Regions from separate parts of the Homo sapiens genome. Here region 1 is linked to region 2. The links are contacts of gene promoters, found by promoter capture Hi-C in blood cells and fetal thymus (Javierre and others, 2016). All regions are on one chromosome and are shown on one strand. Each heading gives the region's core, a stretch centred on a gene start or on the middle of the fragment in contact. The rest is flanking DNA. Distances are from core to core; before and after follow the strand shown.

What was found. The method cuts DNA at HindIII sites, captures the fragments that hold promoters and counts their contacts. A CHiCAGO score of 5 or more calls a contact.
Region 1: the fragment with the promoter of SERPINB9 here is called in contact with a fragment that was not itself captured in region 2 in 1 of 17 cell types (activated CD4 T cells); the score reaches 5.3 in activated CD4 T cells.

Annotation. Positions count from the first base shown.
Region 1 is chr6:2,901,130-2,905,781 of GRCh38, reverse strand. It overlaps SERPINB9 (serpin family B member 9), which reads left to right and starts at 2,473. Exons shown (of 7, transcript NM_004155.6): 1 at 2,473-2,581. RefSeq lists silencers at 2,278-2,327, 2,428-2,507, 2,748-2,797 and an enhancer at 2,508-3,009. The HindIII fragment of the contact is 13,362 bases long and covers 1-4,652 here.
Region 2 is chr6:4,014,414-4,019,526 of GRCh38, reverse strand. LOC124901245 (a long non-coding RNA gene) reads left to right here. Exons shown (of 2, transcript XR_007059415.1): 1 at 1-707. Among named protein-coding and RNA genes, the nearest start is that of PRP4K, 4.3 kb to the left of the region's middle. RefSeq lists an enhancer at 926-975. The HindIII fragment of the contact is 6,943 bases long and covers 1-5,113 here.

The DNA of each region.
Region 1 (4,652 bases), core at 1,224-3,723, 1.1 Mb after region 2:
AGTAGAAGAGATTTTAAATGAAAAATATAGGTAATTGCAAAATCTCTTGATTCTTAGCTATTTCTGAACAGATTTCATGCCCCACCCCCCCATACAATTTTTAGTGGGGGAAAGAGGAGAAAGGAAAGGAAAAGCTAAAATAACCTTGTTTTCATAGTTCTGTGTTTTTATCCTTTCCTAAACCCATTTTCCATCGCTGGTCACATGATTTGGATTGAAAGGACGTTTCCTCTAGGCCTCGGAGCACAGAGGCAGCTAACATGTTTGCACTATGCCATCATGGTCCACGTTTACTCAGACACTTTCTTGCAATGGCACTGACAACGATGCCCCCATTTGTTGCCTTAAAATTCATGGGTATGGCCAGGCACAGTGGTTCACGCCTGTAATCCCAGCACTTTGGGAGGCTGAGGCGGGAGGATCACCTGATGTCAGGAGTTCGTGACCAGCCTGGCCAACATGGTGAAACCCCATCTCTACTAAAAATACAAAAATTAGCTGGGTATGGTGATGCATGCCTATAGTCCCAGCTACTTGGGAGGCTGAGGCAGGAGAATCGCTGGAATTGGGAGGTGGAGGTTGCAGTGAGCCAAGATCACGCCATTGTTCTCCAGCCTAGGCGATAGAGCAAGACTCCACCTCAAAAAAATAAATAAGTGGATAAATAAATAACAGCTTTTTGTTTAATCAATTGTCTCTATCATTATAAAGTTTTCTATATCATTGATTTATTCTCTAATCTTTATTATTTCTTCTTTTCTACTGATTATGTGTTCAATGTATTTATACTTTTTCTAGTTTTTGAAGGTAGAAACTGAGGTCATTGATTTGAAGCCTTTCTCCTCTCCTAATATAGGCATTTCATGCTGCAAAATTTCCCCAAAGCTGACTTAATAACATCCTACAAATTTTGATGTTTTTATTTTCATTTTTTATTAATTTCAAAATACATTCTAATTTCCCTTTTGATTTTATAATATTTTTATAAGTATTATTCAGTTATAAAAAGAAATAAAGTACTAACAAATGCTACCTGGAACCATCAAGAATGACCCTTGAAAACATTATGCTAAGTGAAAGAAGGCAGTCAGGAAAGACCACATATTGTATGATTCAATTTGCATGAAATCTTCACAGTCGGTCAATCCGCAGGGCCAGAAAAGAAATCTGGAGGTCGGAGCCTCTCCCAGAAGCCAGGGGTTGTGGGAAGGAGGAAATGGAGAATAATTGCTAATGGGTATCACAGTTCCTTTTAGGGTGATGAAAACCTTCTGGAGTTAGATAGTGGTGAGAGTTGGACAGCTTTGTCAATATACCAAGAACTATTGAATTGTATGCTTTAAAAGGATGCATATTATGGTCCGTGAATTGTCTTTTAATAAAGGTTTTATTTTTAAAAACAAGCTAGGCACCTAGGGTGTCAAATTGAAGGAGGCTCTGATTCTCAGGGCCGCGCAAATGCAGGGTTGGCACCTATGCGTGTGGCCCTCCTGAAATTTTGTGCCTTAGGCACCTGCCTTGCTTCTCCCTAATTCAGGCCCTCAGGAGAAAGCTCTAATTCTGGTCAATTTGAAACAGGAGGGCACGGCTTCTGGGCGACGCTCCGTGCTCCAGAGAGAGCCATTTGTCTGTTCCCTTCCTCTGGACGTCACCGTGCCAACATGAAATGCTTCCAATTGAGTCCAGCCTGAGATGGAAGGGGGTGGGGGGATATCTGATGACATCACGAACTGCTGCATCAACTCCCCCGAGTCCCTGCCTCTGGACCCCCTGATAGAGGACACAAGGAGTGTCCTGAGCCCGTGTGACTCAGTGTCTCTTCCCATCACTTTGCGGGAAAATGGGGCTGCTTACACCACACCGCAGCCCAAACACCTGTGGCTAGAGAAGGGCTTGGGTACTAGGAGTGAGGACGCCTGGTTCTGGGCCCAGGACTAGTACTAGTTAGTGGTGGGACCTGGAACAAATGCTTTGGTTCTAAGTGAATCCCCCATATTCATGACAAGAGGCGTGGAACACAGACCCATGGGACCTTCCCACTGGAACACGGAGCTTGGCTGTCACCCGACCTTCGCTTCCTTAAGTACAAAAGCCCAGGGTTCCAGGCTCCGTCTCCTTTCCCGCAGACGCCTTGTTTCTTCGCGCGGAGGCCCTGGACGCCGCAGGCTCCCAACCTACTTCTCTGGGCTGTCAGGTTCTGAACCCGGTCCTGAAGAGGCCCTGGCGCCGGGGGTGGGTGAGGCCGAGCGCGCGCCTTGGGAACCTGGCCGGCCTCAGGCTGGCGGGAGCATTGGCGGACATCGCCCCGGGCGGGGCGGACTGGGGGGACCCTGACCTGACCCTGCTCCCAGCTCTGACCTCGGCCACCACGCGCGGCGCCCCCGCTGGTCCCGCCAGGCTCCGCCTAAACGCAGAAAGCGTGGGAGGCGCCCGACCCTGCGGTATAAAAGCGGTGCCTGCAGAGGCCCTAGCGGGAGTCCGCGGCGAGCGCAGCAGCAGGGCCGGGTCCTGCGCCTCGGGGGTCGGCGTCCAGGCTCGGAGCGCGGCACGGAGACGGCGGCAGCGCTGGACTAGGTGGCAGGTGAGGGCGTCCCCGCGCACGGCTGGGGTAGGGGACGGGAGTGGCGAGCTTCAGGTCCACCGGCTGCCACCGAGTGATGGGACCGGAGGACAGGAGAGGTCGCTCAGCCAAGAGCCCCGGGGAGGCGGTGCCTTCTCGGTGGGGTCAGCAACGGTCTCTGGGGGGTGCCTGGGAGCGGCAGCCGGTCTCCGCCTTGGCGGCCCACAGCCACCGCGGACGCCTCCCTCCCGGATGTCTCCTCGCTGCCCTTCCCTGGCCGAAGCCCTCCCCTGCAGCCTCCTCCCCACCTGCCGGCCCTGTGTTCTCACTGCTCTTCTCTGCTCTGGGATCCGCAGGATGACGTCTGTCCTGCTTCTTCACTGTCCTTTACAGTCACCAGTCTCGGCCGGGCGCAGTGGCTCACGCCTGTAATCCCAGCACTTTGGGAGGCCAAGGCGGTCGGATCCTTGGAGATCAGGAGTTCGAGACCAGTCTGGCAAACGTGGTGAAAACCGGTCTCTACTAAAAATACAGAAATTAGCCGGGCATGGTGGCCCACGCCTGTAATAATGTCAGCTATGTGCTGAGGCAGGAAAATCACTTCAACTCGGGAGGCAGAGGTTGCAGTGAGCTGGGATTGCGCCACTGCACTCCAGCCTGGCAGACAGAGTGAGACTTCGTCTCAAAACAAAAAAAAGAAAAACACAAAAAAACCACCACCAACAACAACAAAAAAATAAAGCCACCAGTCTCGGAGTTTCAAATCTGAGCACTCTTATCCATCTTAATTCTTTCAATAATTCAGCTAAACGAATGGGGTCCTGAGAATCTGCAGAGCCAGGCTCAGCGCTCGCCTGCAGAGCCTGCGGTCTGTGGGGACCACCAGCAAGATGAGGAATCACCTTCGGGAGGAAGGGTCGTGCTGGGGAGGGTCGCGCCGGCGGGGTCAAGAGAACCTCCTCCAGGGTGGGAATCAGAGCCTCCGGGCCGCGGTGTTTGAGGGTGAGTGGAATTAATGCCGTGATGGACATGGGGCCTTCTAAGGGGGACCAACAGTGTTTGTGAAGAGTTGACTTTGGGAGGGGTTCAGGATGGCCAGAGGTGGAGGCTGTGACCTCAGTGAGTCTGGATCAAGGGAGGGGGCAGGTGGGTAAGACACCGTTTTAACAAGGTGGCTTTGAGCGGCCACCTTTGAGGGGCCTAAGGGCCCCTGGGAGATTTAGGAGGAAGGACAAGAGGATTAAGACACCGCTTTCTGAGGTGCCGTGTGGCTGTGGCGTGGGGGTGGCTGGGGGAGTGGGTTGTGTTCATTGTCCAAGGCTCTCCAGCGCTTTGCGTGGCGTTTTGGGGAGCACAGATGAGGTGTCCCGACAGTGGGGAGTGGCTCTAGGGAGACCAGAGGCTCGGGAGGGGGCCTGGGCATTAGACCAGGCACAGAATCCGAAGTGGGAAGAAATGTGGGCGTAGAGGGCAGGCCTTGGGGATGGGTGTGGGGGAGGAGGGGGAGATGGAAAGGAGTCAGGGAGGTCTCCCAGGCTCACCTGGAGGAGTCAGGGTCTCATTTCCAAGTGCACTGGGAACTGCAGCCTGGGGGTGGGGGTTCATTTGGTTTCAGGCCTGTGGCCAAGAGACCCACCCCCTCACATTCACACTTTGGTCTCCAGTGGCTTCACAGGCACCACCTCCTTGTTCTCGCCTGTTTTACTCCTCACCTTGGGCTGTTTCTTGCCTTTCCATTCTGGCGTTCTGCAGGGATCAGATCCTTCCTCTCACGCACAATCTACACTCATGGCTTTTGCTGGGAGTAATGAGTAAAGCTCCCAAATAGATGTTTCTGAGTTAGGAAGCACATTAAAAACAAAACAAAACGAAGCAAAACCACACAATTGTCCAAGTCCCACTCTGTGTTCAAGGGTCACATGATGTGCAGAAGCTGGTGATGGGCAGGAGCTCTGAATGGAGTTACTGGGATGTCAGGCCGCGTGGGCCTGGGGCAGGCTGGCTGACTGGGAGCAGCCTGGCTCCACCCCGGCTGTCCAGGACGCACTCACTTGCCTCTATGGATGACAGCTCCTTGCCTCACAGCTGTCTG
Region 2 (5,113 bases), core at 572-3,071:
ATCCACCCTCACAGCTCTTTGGCATTCAAATGTTTGTTGAGTAGGGGTAATAGAGCACTACGTTCGAATCAGAAAATGCCTTATTTTTCCTTGCTTGCAAGAGCCTATTATAAATAAATGCCTTGTTTTCGCTGTGTCTCTTTCTTGTTGTCGAGAGCTCAGGCTGGTCTTAATTTCTGCAACCATAGTATTATCTCCCAGGTCTCCTTCTGCCCTGTGTATTTTGCAGTTATGCTTTATGTGGAGATGAAGCATCCTAAGTGTGGAGAACGATATATGGGGCCCGAACAATAGGTGCTGAAGCCAGATTGTGTGACTAAAGTTGGTATTTGAACAAACCAAGTGTTTATTTTTTTAAAGAGCATGGTAAAAACTAAGTTTCAAAAATCGATGCTGGCAAAAATTTCCTTGAAAAAATTCTCACCAAGTTCACTTGCACGGTACTACCTGGGGAATGAAACACATTTGTCAAGGACACGCCCAAAACTATGTTGCTGTTGTAATTTTCAAAGACTGGGAACTGCGGCAGGGGGAGTTACAATTAAAGCAAACATCGGCGTATCAGTTTATTCATTCAGCAAACGTTTATGAAGCAACAAACGTATGCCCAATATTTCAGTCTTGCTGCTCTTCCTCCCCAAATTCAGGAACCTTTGCAACGGAAAGCGGCCTCGGGCAGGCGCCTTTTGAGCAGAGGAGTAAAACCGGTAAGTCAGCAGTGGAACCCGCCTCCCCGGAAATCCTTGGAGGGGGCGGGGCCCTGGGGAGCGCGCTCTTCCCAGCGGCAGCTGGGGAGGCGCATGCGTACTTGCGTCATCGTTGGGTAGCAGCGGGGAGGCGTGGGAGGATCTGAGGCCTGCGGTGGGCCTTGGTCCCTTCTCTCCCCGCCCCGAAGCCGCCTGCTCAACCTGAGGGCCACCGGCCTCTATCCGTCGGTGCCGATGCTCCTTGCTTCCCAGCCAGAGCGTCTCATCTCTGGGCCCGGAGCCCCAGGCTCGTTCTCCTCAGCCCCTGCCGGCGGCGGCGCTCTTGCAGCCATTCCTGTGAGGTCGTTTTTCGGAGCAGCCGGGCCGGCCGAGGAGTAAGTAGGCGCCAGAGTTCTAGCTCGGGCATCTGCCTCGGGGCCCTGTCGCCGCCGCGCCCCGGATCCTGCGTTGGTCCTGTCCGATAAAGCGGAGGTCGGCCCTGCTTGCTGACGAGACCGTAAAAACCACGGCGCTTGGCGCCCTGCCGCCGCCACACCACACCAAAGTGTACCTGCCCGAGGCTGGCTTCGGGCGCGAGCTTGCATTTGTGACTTTCTCTTACCGTCTTTGTTTGCTTCGTTTTAAGTATTACTTCCAGATAAGGGACACATTCTCGAAATACTTTGAAAACAGTTTTGAATTTTGTTCCTCCCGTTGAAACGGATTAAATTTGGACCTTTCAAGCTACACTGTGCAATCATCAATCTCAATAAGCTCTTAATAGGCTCATTCTTCCGTAGGCTACAAACAAAATAAAGATCATAACATCCTGCGGAGGAAGCCATTGGTCCATGTAGAGTCGCCAGATGTCAATTAAGAGTAGATCGCTTTTCAGAGAATACTTAACGACTCTGGTTTAGACCTAGACTTGGAACTTTGAGGTGTTTGGAACACTGGGCAGAATTTTCCTTTGTTACAAAACAAAGTTTATGAGAACGTAATTTGTTTTTGTTGTTTTTGTTGTTAGTATTGAAGCAATTTTGGTGCAAACCAAAGGATAACAAAGCAAAACAATGAAAATCACCCAGAGTTCCATTACCCACACTGAACCAACTTGAATATATTGGTTTATTTTGGCTTTTTTCCATATGAAATGTTAAATTTTCTTGTACTCACGTGTAGAATATGATAGTTTGCTCTTTCATGTAACATGTCTCCCAATTTTTACATACATAATTCTAGTTTCAGTAAGCATTTTTATAACTACACTCTTTTTCCTTTGTTATTGTATGTCTAGGTTATTTCAACTTTGCACTGTTGCTTGTAACTACTATGTGATGAGGCAGTAGCTAGATTAGTATTTAGAACGTGAGCATTCAAGTCAGGCAGACCTGGGCTTCACAACTTACTGTGCAATTTCAAAGAGTTTAACTTTTTTGAGCCTCATTTTACACAGTAACATGGGGATAATGGTTCTGATTGCATAGAATTATTATGAGAGTAAGATGAAATAATGAGTGGAAGTGCCTGCAGCATGTATTGTTAGTAAATGCTGTATTACTGCAGGCAAATTTTTCTTTTGTTGTGGTTTTTTGGTGACATGTATGATTTATTTCCAGATTTTGAATATACTTAAATACTATTAACCACAGTAGGGGTATGGGGTTTGATCCACAGCTTTTCATATATTTTATACAATATATTGTGTGTTTGATACACAGCTTTTCATATACTTTATTATAAGTAACACATGAATTAGAAATAATTTTTCACAATAGGAAAAACTTTTTAAAAATTAAAATTTATAATCCTGCTAACCGTAGGTGAATAGTCACATTTTGGGCAATCCTTTTTTATGCATATATATGTAGTGGTTTTATTTTATTTTATTTTATTTTTATTTTTTGAAACGGAGTCTTGCTCTGTTGCTCAGGCTAGGGTGCAATGGTGCGACCTCGGCTCACTGCAACCTCCGCCTCACGGGTTCAAGCAATTCTCCTGCCTCAGCCTCCCGAGTAGCTGGGATTACAGGCGCCCGCCGCTGCGCCCGGCTAATTTTTATATTTTTAGTAGAGACGGGGTTTCACCATCTTGGCCAGGCTGGTCTCGAACTCCTGACCTCGTGATCCACTCGCCTCAGCCTCCCAAAGTGCTGGGATTACAGGCATGAGCCACCGTGCTGGGCCTGTAGTGTTTTCTAAAAATAGAATTATATTATAAATTGGGTTTATCAACTTGCTGAAAATGGCAGAGGCCAGTGCGATGAGAGTAGGGTGATTAAGGGAGTAGGAAGTAATGCAGGAAAGGGAGTTTGTAGGATTTAGATTTCACTGAAAGTGTACTGGACAGGTTGGGCATAGTGGCTCAGGCCTGTAATTGTGTCACTTTGGGAGGCTGAAGTGGAAAGATCCCTTAAGCCCAGGAGTTCGAGCCAGCCTGGGCAACATAGGGAAACCCTATCTCTATAAAATAAAAATAAAAATAATTATTTTGAAAAAAAAGTTTACTGGACAGAGTAAGTTCAGGGTTGAGGAGTGACCTGATTTGTTTTAGAAGGCTCATTTGGCTGCCATATGGAGATAGACTGCAAGGGACCAGGGGAGGAAGATGCAATCCAATTAGGAGAGTATTTAAGTAATCTCTGTGAGAGATGGTGTTAGTTTCGATCAGGGTGTAAGTAGGGAAAAATGATTGGGTTCTGGATATATTTTGAAGGGAGAAGTTATAGGATTCACTGATTGATGGGATGTGGAATTCAAGAGAAAGTGACTTAAAGAATTTTGGTTTGGGCAGTTAAACAGATACAGTTGCTACTTACCAAGATAGAGACTGAAAGTTGGGGGAAACTAAATAGAGTTCTGTTTCAGTCATGTTACCTGTTGTGGAGTCTAACTAGTTGGAACAGGAGTATGAAAGACTTAATCTTCTGTTCTTGAGGTATCAATTTGTCCCTTCATTTCTGTCAGTTTTTGCTACATATATTCTGTTACTAGGTGCATCTATCCTTGTAAATTGTTACATCTTCCTTGTGGGTTTATCCTTTTATCATTAAAAATGTTTCTCTTTTTCTCTAGTAACATTGTTTTAAAGTCTATTTTGTCTGATATTAATGTAGCTATTTCAGTTCTCACGTGATTACTATTTACATGCTTTGTATCATTGACTCTAAAATGTGTCTCCTGTAGACATATAGTTGGATCTTGGTTTGTTTTTTGTTTGTTTGTTTGTTTTTTGTTTTGAGACAGAGTCTTGCCCTGCCTCCTTGGCTGGAGTACAATGGCGTGATCTGGGCTCACTGCAACCTCCACCTCCCGGGTTCAGACGATTCTCCCACCTCAGCCTCCCCAGTAACTGGGATTACAGGGGCCCGCCACCACGCCCAGCTAATTTTTGTATTTTTAGTAGAGACGGGGTTTCACCATGTTGGCCAGGCTGGTCTCAAACTCCTGACCTTGTGATCCACCTGCCTCGGCCTCCCAAAGTGCTGGGACTACAGGCATGAGCCACTGTGCCTGGCCGGATCTTGTTTTTTTTAATCTGATAATTTCTGCCTTTTGATCCAATTGTTTAATCATTCACATTTAATGTTATTGATATAGTTGGATTTATGTATGCCATCTTATTTTTGTTTTCCTTATGTCTTGTCTTTTTCTTTTCCTGTCTCTCCTTTACTGCTTTGTTTTGGATCAAGTGAATATCTTCTAATGTAGCATTTTAATTTCTTGAATGATTTTTTACACTGTTTTAAGTTTTTTTTAGAGACTGTAGTGGTGCTCTAGGGCTTACCGTACAATTAGCTTAACTTATTAGAATCAGCTTCAGATTTATACTAACTCAATTGCAGTGAGATATAGAAACCTTACTCCAATATAGTTTTATTCCATGTCCCTGTTTTTTTGTGGTTTTGTTGTTGTACATGTTATAGTTGTTACAAACTCAACAATACATTACTACAATTATTACTTTTACATCATTTAAAGAAAATGAACAAAGGAAAGCAAATATATATTTGTAGCTTTTGTTATAGTAACCTTATTTATCATTTCAGGTTGTTTGTTTATTTTTCTTGTGGATTCATTACCATCTGGAGTAATTTTGTTTTCTTTTTCTTTCTTTTTTTTTTTTTTGGAGGGATAACAGGGTCTTGCTCTGTTGCCCAGGCTGCTGGAGTGCAGTGTCATGAATATATCTCACTGTAGCGTCAAACTCCTGGACTCAAAGTGATCCTTCCACCTCAACCTCCTGAGTAGCTGGGACTACAGGCACATGCCACCAGGCATGGCTAATATTTGTATTTTCTGCACCTCAGCCTTCTGAGTAACTATATTACTCTATAAGCACACATCACCACACCCAGCTAATTTTTAAATTTTTTATAGAGACAGAGTCTCACTGTGTTGCTCAGGCTGGTCTCTAACTCCTGGCCT